Regions from separate parts of the Homo sapiens genome. Here all the other regions are linked to region 1. Evidence: promoter capture Hi-C in human tissues and cell types (Jung and others, 2019). All regions are on one chromosome and are shown on one strand. The core of a region is centred on a gene start or on the middle of the fragment in contact, and the rest is flanking DNA. Distances in the headings are between cores, read along the strand shown. Region 1 holds the start of CFL2 (cofilin 2). Region 2 overlaps RALGAPA1 (Ral GTPase activating protein catalytic subunit alpha 1). Region 3 overlaps PRORP (protein only RNase P catalytic subunit).

Region 1 (3,601 bases), core at 815-3,314:
TCTGTAAGACCATAAATAATAAATTTGTGTTGTTTTAAACAAGTAATTTTATGGTAATTTGTTATAGCAACAGTCGAACGCTAATACATGTGGTATCTGACACTCAGATCCCCCTCCACTACACAGTGACCAAAATTCATGCAGCAATGATTGGCAATGCTGCCCCTTTACCAAGTGGTGGTAAGTTCTGGTTATAACTCACAGAGGTGAAGGCAGGAAGCTGCTACTGGCCCTGACATTCTCAGTGCCATGCTCACAAGGGCATGTAGAAAGGCTTCACAATTTTCAGAAGCTTCCTTTTCATTCTCTTTACAGCACTAAAGCATCTTAAATGTATTATTTCAGCACCTATTAAGCACCTACTATCTGTCAGGTTCCAGAAATTCAAAGATAACCAGGACTCAGATCCTTAAGGAGCTTACAGCGCAGTAGGGTGGCAGAAGACATAAACAAGTTATTATAATGTAACAAAATATATGCAAGACAAAAATAACTTCAGGAAAAGAATCTTAGAACATGTGAATTACCATCTCTGTTTGGGGAGGGTAAGAGAGAATGGGAGGCATGGAAAGGGGTTGGAGTCCGAGCTAGGGGGTGACTAGCATCTTTGGAATCCCCAGCTTTGGTGGGTAAGGTTCTGACACCCACTTTAGGCCCCAGTGTCATCAGACCTGGTCTCTGCTGGGGCTGCTGCAAATCTCTGAGGTTGGGAAGGGAAGGTAACCGCAAGATGAAGCGAACAGGAATTTGCTAATACCTACACATAGCAGATGATCAGAGCTCTGGAGAGACATTCTCCATGACTTCTTGGAAGTTCAACAGATAAAGTGAAAGGTTCCATAAATTGTAATGTACCAGCTAGATATAAAGTATTATCCACTTGCTTGGGATTCATGCTTAGACATTGGGAAATCCCTTCTCAATTTTTGTCTCTAAACGAAGTCTATCTTCCAATTAAGAAAACAAACCCAAGATATAGACAGAAAAATAGGTCTGTTTCAATGCCTAGCATGTTCCATTTAAAATACAGTAAATTTGGGCTGAAAGAACTTATCACGCAATCTAGGGCAAACACCATCTCATGACTTTCCTGCCTAACCTCAATCCTGAGACCACCAAAAACACACCATTTCCTACTGAACATTGATATACTCAGAAACTGAAATCTAAAGCTGGAAAGGGCCTTAACGATAATTTAATAACAGTTTGTTTTACACATGAAGAACCCTGAGGTATGGAGGAGTTAAGATTAAAAAAAGAGAAACTGCCTTGGCGCAGTTATATGGGCTTTGCTAGAAGAGGCTGCGTCGGCTTATTTGATATCAGCTGTCATAGCTGGAGCTTCATGAAATCTCTAAGAGAGAGTACAATCCATTTCCTATGAAGTCTAAAATGTAAAAGGATATTACTAAGGAATGCTACCACGTAATTTTTTAATCATAATTATTATTTCAACCAGAGTTTTGAAAAGTGATTTACCAACACTGCGTATCATTTTGTTTTTGCTAAGTACTATCAACTGGAGCAATCTCGTGTAGTATTTATTCTCATTTATCTCTAAACAACTGGGGGTTTTCCAAAAAGACTCAAAATGTCGAAATCCAGCCTCTTTCGGGAAAACCACAGGTAAATAAGGAAAGACACCTTCGCAGGAGTTCCCCTCACACGCACCCACCCCTGGCGCAGGGCCCTACGGAGGCGGTGGAAACGCCCCTCTGGGAGCCCAGCACTCTCTCCCACCGGCTTGACGGGTGATGCTCGGGGGCTGGAGGCGGCTCTGCCAGGCTCCCGGGCTCCGCTACCACCGCGTCGCCCCCCCCGGCCTGCAGGGCTCGCGCTCTGAGGTCAGGCCGAGGACGCGGACAGCCGGGGAGCCGGGGCCGCGAGACAGAAGGGCCGGCCTGGGAGCGGGTGGCGCCGGCTGGGGACCAGGCGTGCCCACGTGACCGCCCCGCCCGCTGCCTGCGGCCCGCCGAGCCCCGCCACCTCCCTCGGGCTGCAGCTCCCGGCGTGCCCCGCACTCTCCGCTGCCCACCCGCTCGCCCGCCCCTCCTTCTCCTCCCAGTGCCACAGAGCCGAAGCCCGAGCTGCCGCCGCAGCCACAGCCGAGGGCACTATGGTAAGACGAGCGCGCTGGCCGGGAGGCCGCGGCGAGGCGAGAAAAGCCCCCCGCACGGCCCCGGGAGTGAGGCCGCCATTTTAACCTGATTTTGGCCTCCAAGGTGGGCGCTTCTGCTCTGCGGCTCCGCTGCTCTCCAGCCGACCGGCCTGCCCTCCGGCCGTCAGGCCCTGCCCTGCTGCTCTTTGGATTTTGGGGGGCGGGGAGGGCCCGGGCGTCGGCGCAGGTTGGGGGTCGGGGCCGGGCGGGCGGGGGCGCGAGAGGGTCTGCGGACTGCAGCCGCTCGCGCCGCCTTTGCCCTTCGCTTCCTAATTTTACTTAACACGCGAGGCTTTAAAATTGGTACGTGCTGCGAACGCTGTGTGGGTCAGGGTCTGGACGGCCTGTAATAAAACCCTTACGGGGAGATTAAGGAAGAGGGAAAACACTTTTTAAAATGCTTTCTCGCCGTAAAAGCTTTTACACTCGATCAGTTAGTTTTGGAGTGTCTGCATGTGAGCTGTGTGTGGGCCGTGGGCGGTTTGGAGTTTACACTTGATTCTCTTTCCTTATGAGGAAACGTCAGTGGCTAGGATGACTTTAAAGAAAAAAATAGTAGAAGCATTAACTGAAATCCAAAAGTGTTTTTTTAAGGCCAGCCGAGTTGACACAATACAGAAGGTATTTTTGCTGCCACTCCTGAAGCTCTGACATCACCCAGTGAAATAGGAAACATTTCAGGGATGGGACAACTTGTATTTGTCCCTTTCGCTTCCACGTCCAAACCCCTTTAAGAAGGATGAATGGGCAGGATGAGTTAGACTCCTTCGCTGTATCGTCTACTGATTCTTAAAATGTGACAAATCTGATTGGACGACTTACATGGTACGGTGCAATTTTTGATGTCCAGACTAAAGTGAGTCTTCTCTAGGCAAACAGTAATTTTGGTTAAAACCAAAATACGTGTTCTGAATTACTGTTCTGTGTTTATTTTCAGGCTTCTGGAGTTACAGTGAATGATGAAGTCATCAAAGTTTTTAATGATATGAAAGTAAGGAAATCTTCTACACAAGAGGAGATCAAAAAGAGAAAGAAAGCAGTTCTCTTCTGTTTAAGCGATGACAAAAGACAAATAATTGTAGAGGAAGCAAAGCAGATCTTGGTGGGTGACATTGGTGATACTGTAGAGGACCCCTACACATCTTTTGTGAAGTTGCTACCTCTGAATGATTGCCGATATGCTTTGTACGATGCCACATACGAAACAAAAGAGTCTAAGAAAGAAGACCTAGTATTTATATTCTGGTGTGTAAAAACAAAAGAAAAAAGTACTTTTAAAATGCAAGGATTATTATTATCATAGTCAGTCTTACCTTTGTTTTTCTTATAAATGGGATTCAATAATTTTTTTTTTTTCTGTAGGGCTCCTGAAAGTGCACCTTTAAAAAGCAAGATGATTTATGCTAGCTCTAAAGATGCCATTAAAAAGAAATTTACAGGTAC
Region 2 (3,601 bases), core at 636-3,135, 970 kb before region 1:
ACAGTTAAATGGTTATTTCATCCTGACACTGAAGGCAGTGAAAATAATGCAGTGATATGCAACACTAAGCCTGTTTCTCAAACTTTTTTATTGTAAATTTGATAAAGTAACTTAACCTCTCTGGGCTTCAATTTTCTCATCTGTGAGATAGTTAAATTAGATAATCTCTGAATGTCCATCTATAATAATAATAATAATTATTATTATTATTATTATTTGAGACGGAGTTTTGCTCTTGTTGCCCAGGCTGGAGTGCAGTGGCATTATTTCGGCTCACCGCAGCCTCTGCCTCATGGGTTCAAGCAGTTCTCCTGCCTCAGCCTCCCAAGTAGCTGGAATTACAGGCATGCACCACCACGCCCGGCTAGTTTTGTGTTTTTAATAGAGATGGGGTTTCTCCATGTTGGTCAGGCTGGTCTTGAACTCCCGACCTCAGGTGATCTGCCCACCTCAGCCTCCCAGAGTGCTGGGATTATAGGTGTGAGCCACCGCGCCCAGCCTATAATTCTTAAAAAGAGATGTAAGAAGCCAGAAATATAGTTTTTAGAGCTTGATGGCTGTTTAATGGAAAGGGCCAATAACAGGCAGGTAAAGTTTCTTCCTAGCAGATTTAAGTGGTGTTTTTGCCAAAAACAAAAGAATACAATTGATTTTTTAAAAAATATATTGACTTTATTTGATGTCAGTGAATAAGATTTTAATACGTAATAAAGTAAAACACCTGGGGAGAACAGTTTCCTGACAAAGAGAAATTTAGGAAGAGGGTAGAGACTTTCATTTCTAATATGTAATCAAACAGAGAAGCAAAATTTGAAGAAAAGATGCCTCTTGCCTTTTTGGGAAGGAAGCTGGAGAATTTATTAGACCCTATAAGAGTCTACAGTGGGATACTTGGATCGGCTTTCTGTGTTAAGGTGTATTTTTTCTGCTTGGAACGTAAATAAGTAGGAAAAATTTAATAGCATTTGAGTTGCTTGATTTATTGGCACAGCTCTATCTTTATCTGCACTTCCAAATGTTTCATCACCTCACTGTCTGTTTCTATGCATGTTAACATTTTAAAATGTGTTTTGGTAGTTTTCTAATTCATTGACACTACATGCTATATTGGCTTGTGCCCATCATTTTTTTAAAAAAGCAGATTTGTATTTTGATTTTTTTTTCATTGAGCTTACAAAAACTCAGATTTTTTTTAAAGCATATGCTTTAGAGCATTATTGAAATTAATAATTATTTTTTATATTTGTGTAGTTCTTCTCTACATAATTTTTTTTTCTTTTACAGATATTGATGATGCTCAAATACTTCCCCGCTCAACTAGAGTCAGACATTTTTCACAAAGTGAAGAAACTGGAAATGAAGTTTTTGGTGCTTTGAATGAGGAGCAGCCATTGCCTCGAAGTAGCAGCACTTCTGACATCTTGGAACCATTCACTGTTGAACGAGCCAAAGGTGCAGTTCCTGTCATTGACAGTTCATCCCGTCATGCACCAAGCTTGCAGAGTTCCACAGAGGCTTCTTCAATAACTAGATCCACTGAAAGCCACATCACTGATACTCATAGTAGAGAGTCTTCTCTGGAAGTTGGTGATAGCATATATGACCATCTTTGTCATTTAATAGGTCCAGTAGAACTTGCAGATTCAGCTTTTGAACAAATCCAGTACATTGACCTTGAAGGAGATGATGATCTTCTTTCCACCCTGAAAGAATATTTTAAGGAAAACCAGGAAAATCATAGTAAAAATGAGACAGGGAAAGACCCAGCTTCTCAGGAAGTGACTATTGCAGTAAATAGGGGTGAAAGATTATCCTTAGATAAATTAGAATGCACAGATCAGGAAACTGAATCAGAAAATATCACCTCTTTTGTTGGGACTCCTGAAAACCTACAGTTTCAGAAAGAACCAAACTCAGCTGTCTTCATGAGTAATATCGCACCTAACCAGTCAGACAGTTTTTTTAGAACACAAACTTCTGAAAAATCTAAGCAACTAAACACTGATAAACAGCCATCAGAGCCTAGTTTAGATAGCCCTTGTGATAAAGAAAAAAGGAAACATCTGTACAGACAAGCAGCCACAGAATTAGATGCTTGTGTTGATGTAACACTAGTTGAAAAGCTTAAGAGTGTGCAAATTAATGAAAAAATCACTGTCCCACATGTTATGCGTGCCAAGAAAGCAACACTAAAAGCACCTGTTAACCGCAGAATGCCTCATGTTACAAGTACTAGCAAACTTTCTCCAACTAAAAGGAGCTTGTCTGAAACAGTAACTCATAGAGCCAAAATCATGAAAATTGCTACTAAAAAACGAAATAGTGTTCATGTTACTTTTAGGCCATCCACTGAGTCCGTTCAGTTTTATAATCCTCTGGAAAACAAAGAGGCTCCATGGAAGATGAGACTGCGGAAGCTCGGTGGCTTTAGTAGTGGTAGCAGCAATAGCAGCACTAGCAACACCCATACCAGCACAAATAGTGCTACAGAGCTAGTAAAACCTGGTGTGTACAGACCTCTAGATACACTTGGTACTGCATCAGTAAGCAGCAAAACAGTGAAGGAATCCACAGAGATTCCCACCACCATATTACAAAAAGAAGGAATTGCAAGTAGTCAATTAGGTAGTCGTAGTACTCTTAGGTCATCAAGTCATGAGGCAGGACTACAGCAGGGCTCCCTGGGTGGCGTTTATAAAACTGTTGTACATGCTCTTTCGAAGCCGAAGGCAAATGTTTCCCCACAGAGGCAGAACAGAATGCCACCAGAGGCTCCACTGAGGGATCTGTACAGTCATGTAATGGGCTATTTTGGAAGGAAAGCTGCAGGTGAGCACTAACAGTGTGCAGAGCGCAAAAGGAGAAAGACAGCACCAGTTTGGCTTAATGCAACTGAAGCAAGCTATAAGCAATCAAAAAGCTTTGGGATGGTCACTGCTTTCTCTCTGTTTGGTTATGCATGCGCCTTTTCCCAGCTGTATTTTTCCCAGCATAGAATGTTTATTTAAATTACTAATTTCCCTTATAAGGCATTTAGTTAAACCTCTTTGCTGCTGAACAACAACATAGGAAAGTGGATATATAGGAAAATTTCAATAACCTATCAAAGACTACCTAAATCAAGTATTTTTCTGAGTGTATACCACAAGTATGGAAATTAAGATTATCAAGGAGTTACTATGCTTTCTTCCCCACCCCACTATAGTTTAAAAGGGCACCAGATATATCTAACTGATTTCACTTATTTTTACTGCTGATCTATTTGGTTTTGTATTTTTTCTTGATAGAAATTATTTTGACAACTAACATAATAGAAATCAAGGTCCTACAGCCAGCACCAACATTATAGTTAACTATCAGTGATGAGGAAATTATTTCTTAAATCTCAAAGTGAATTTAATCACTTTTCATTTAAGCCATTTCCAAACATGCTGTAGGCTTTTAGTTTTGCATTCATTTATATAGAATGCAAGTTATGTCCTTGAAACACTTTAATTACTTTGTTTTTTTCTGAGATTTTAAATGTGCATAAAGGTTTCACAGTAGCCACTCATGATTTAAATATGGAACCTCTATGGACAGATAACAGAAAGCAAGATTA
Region 3 (3,601 bases), core at 1-2,500, 520 kb before region 1:
AGACAAGGTTTCACCATGTTGGCCAGGCTGGTCTCAAACTCTTGACCGCAGGTGATCTGCCCGCCTCTGCCTCCCAAAGTGCTGGGATTACAAGCATGGGGCACCGTGCCCAGCCAACTTTTCTAATTTATTCTATAGAGGCCAGAGCAGAAGACCCTTGGTTTTCTTTAGTTGTACAGGGCAGGACAGTTCATGATTTGGCATGACACTGGTATGGCTTCATTCACAGAATGCTTGCAGGCAACGTCTGAAATGCCAAAGAAACAATGTGTCATGTACATGTAACCTGTCAAAGGTCACGAGAATCTTGTTTCTAAAATTTAGACCAGCCATCTAATTTTATGAACACTATACAGTAGTCTGTTCTTGTTCTTCACCAGCTCGTTGCCTGATCTAATAAACTCTTAATTATAAGCTGGTATTCAAATGCTGAGGAGAAAAGGGGCTCCACCTTGATCATGTACTTTGAAAAAATATTGTTTGTTTTTAGGGAAGCAGACATCTCTGGAGAAAGCATAGGAAGTGGATTTAGTGTAGTTTGTTTTTTTTTTTTTTTTCTTGAGACGGAGTCTTACTCTGTCACCCAGGCTGGAGTGCGGTGTTGCAATCTTGGCTCATTGCAACCTCCGCCTCTGGGTTTTCCTGCCTCAGCCTCCCAAGTCGCTGGGATTACAGGCACCTGCCACCACACCTGGCTAATTTTTTTGTATTTTTAGTAGAGACGGGGTTTCACCATGTTGGCCAGGCTGGTTTTGAACTCCTGACCTCAAGAGATCCGCCCGCCTCGCCTCCTAAAGTGCTAGGATTATAGCCGTGAGCCACCACCACACCTGGCCTAGTGTAGTGTTTTGAGAGCTGTTACCTCTGGGCAAGTCACAGCCTTTTAAGCCAGTTTCCTTATATGTAAAGTAAGAAAAATACAACACTTAGTCCATAGGGATGTGTGAGGATCAAATCACTTAATATTAATGAAAGGACTCTATAAGCTGTAAAAGACTACGTGTTGTTATTGTTAGGCTGTAAAAGCACAATGTCATACATTTATATATAGCCTTGTGATGCCTTAAAAAAGCTTTGATATGCCTTACTTCATAGGACTGCTTAAGCACAGTGTCCAGCTTTAATAAGAGTATTTGGTTTCTGGCCCTTCAGATAAAATGCAGAGAAAAAAAGACGTGTTAACTTAGAATGGCTATGTGCACTGTATTTAAAGAGTTTTGTTTGTTTCACTTAATGAATCTTAATCTTAAAAAGGTTAAGATTTTAAGAGAATTAAGAGGTTTAATGACAACAGAGTTGACATATTTTTCCCAAAGTCCTAGACTTTCATTCCTTTAAGCACATTCTTTTCCTCTTTTTTAGATTCCACTGTCATCACTTTAGTTCAAGATGTCATTAGGTCTTTTGGTTGGTCTTTCAATGCTGTTTCTCCTGTGACATTGCCAGGTTAACTTTCCTACAACCTGGCTTTCTTTGTGTCATTTTCCTATACATACTCATCCTCCAAATCCTAATTTCTGGCATTGGTAGGCTGTCCAAACCTACAGGTGTAAACAAATCCAGAGAACTACCCAGTGAGGGGCGGTCTAGATATGTGGGTTTGGGAATTACAAATGCATACCACAGGGCATGATAGTGCGGCACGGTAAAAGACCACAGACTTTGGTGTCAGATTGGCATTTCAATTCTGAATCTGTTACTTTTATTAACGATTCAGGGAAGTGACTTAATTGCACCTCAGTTTTCTCATTTGTAAAATGAGAATCTAATTTCTTCATAGGATTGTTTAAGCACAGTGCCCACCTTTAATACAGTGTTTGGTTTCTGGCCCTTCACATAAAACGCAGAGAAAAAAAAAAAAGATGTGTTAACTTAGAATGGCTATGTGCACTGTATTTAGAGTTTTGTTTGTTTGACTTAATGAACAGATATTATATCTAATTTAAAAATTTAAGGCCAGGCACGGTGGCTCATGCCTGTAATCCCAGCACTTTGGGAGGCCGAGGTGGGTGGAGCACAAGGTCAGGAGATCAAGACCATCCTGGCTAACACAGTGAAACCCCGTCTCTACTAGAAATACAAAAAAAATTAGCCGGGCTTGGTGGCATACGCCTGTAGTCCCAGCGGAGGCTGAGGCAGGAGAATCTCTTGTACCCGGGAGGCAGAGGTTGCAGTGAGCCGAGATAGCACCACTGTACTCCAGTCTGGGCAACAGAGCAAGACGCTGTCTCAAATAAAAAATAGAAGTTTAAGAAGGTGAAAAGGCAAAATTGGAAAGGGGAACTATAAATATTTTAATATATTCAGATATCTCCCTAGTCAAAACATTAACTGTAAATTGATTTAAGTTACATGGTCATTTTTGCCTGTGGAAGAGGATAGATTTGAAAGAAACAAAACTGAAGATGAGAAACCAGTTAGGAGGCTATGATAGGGATTTAAGCAGGTACTAACAAGGATCTGATGAGAAAGATATGGTAAAAGAAGAAGAGAAAAGAATGGATTTGAGAAACAGAGCTGGGCATAGTGGTTGATGCCTGTAACCCCAGCACTTTGGGAGGTCTAGGTGGGAGGATCGCTTGAGTCTGGGAGTTTGAGATCCGCCTGGGCAACATAGGGAGACTTTGTCTCTACGAAAAATTTAAAAATTAGTTGGATGTGGTGGCGCACGTCTGTGGTCCCAGCTACTCAGGATGCAGAGGCAGGAGGATCATTTCAGCCTAGGAGGTCAAGGCTGCAGTGAGCTGTGATGGCGCCACTGCACTGTAGCCTGGGTGACAGAGCAAGACTCTGTCGAGAGAGAGAAAGAGAGAGAGAGAGAGAAGGAAGGAAGGAAGGAAAGGAAGGAAGGGAAGGAAAGGAAGGAAGAGAAGGAAGGAAGAGAAGGAGGGAAGGAAGGAGTGAAGGAGGGAAGGAGGGAGGGAGGAAGAAAGGAAAGAAAAGAAAGAAAAGAAAAATGAAAGAAAGAAGGAGAAAGAGAGAGAAAGAAAGAAGATGAGAGAGAGAGAGAAATAATTAGGAGGTAAAATTGGCAAGACTTGGTGAACATTTGGTACCACCTATTGGTGTAGATGTCTGGCAGGAAGATGGCAAGTTCAGTTTTGGACATACAGTATTTAGTTTCAAGTACCTGTCTAAGGTAAAGATGCAGAGATAGAACATCAGAGAACACCAACATTTAAGGAGTAAGAGAAGGAAGGGAAGTTCAAAAACAAGAGAGAACAAGGAATGGTCAGAGAGTGTAATGAGAAGGATAAGAATGTGAAGTCACAGAATTCAAAGACATAGACAATTTCAAGAAGAAAGGAATCTATAAAGTATTAAATGCAGAAAAAGAGTGATAAAGACTAAAATATGTTCATCAAAACTGGCAATTAGGAAGTTACTGCTGTCCTGAGGGAGAGCATTTTCAATGCAATGATGGAGACTAAGCCAGACTTCAGTGGGCTTAGGGGTTAGGGAGCAAATGGGTAGCAAGAAAAGAATTGTATACCAGTCTTTTGAGAGGTTTAGATGAGGAGGACAGAAACTAGAGCAAGCTAGCTATTTATGAGTTAGTGATTAAAGCAATGGAGATCCAAGAGAATCAGAAAAGCATGTC

What was found. Contacts are between HindIII fragments. The study calls those that stand out against the background at their distance.
Region 2: a fragment that was not itself captured here is called in contact with the fragment with the promoter of CFL2 in region 1 in 1 of the 25 tissues and cell types used here (spleen).
Region 3: a contact is called between a fragment that was not itself captured here and the fragment with the promoter of CFL2 in region 1, in 1 of the 25 tissues and cell types used here (mesendoderm cells).

The regions. Positions count from the first base shown.
Region 1 is chr14:34,713,056-34,716,656 of GRCh38, reverse strand. It overlaps CFL2 (cofilin 2), which reads left to right and starts at 2,064. Exons shown (of 4, transcript NM_138638.5): 1 at 2,064-2,119; 2 at 3,096-3,403; 3 at 3,521-3,597. The coding sequence starts at 2,117. RefSeq lists silencers at 1,628-2,217, 2,308-2,367. The HindIII fragment of the contact is 13,048 bases long and covers 1-3,601 here.
Region 2 is chr14:35,687,687-35,691,287 of GRCh38, reverse strand. RALGAPA1 (Ral GTPase activating protein catalytic subunit alpha 1) reads left to right here. Exons shown (of 42, transcript NM_001346249.2): 18 at 1,285-2,829. Among named protein-coding and RNA genes, the nearest start is that of SNORA101B, 73 kb to the left of the region's middle. The HindIII fragment of the contact is 3,538 bases long and covers 117-3,601 here.
Region 3 is chr14:35,236,307-35,239,907 of GRCh38, reverse strand. All of the region lies in intron 5 of PRORP (protein only RNase P catalytic subunit), which reads right to left. All of the region lies in intron 5 of PRORP-PSMA6 (PRORP-PSMA6 readthrough), which reads right to left. Among named protein-coding and RNA genes, the nearest start is that of PSMA6, 54 kb to the left of the region's middle. The HindIII fragment of the contact is 8,663 bases long and covers 1-3,601 here.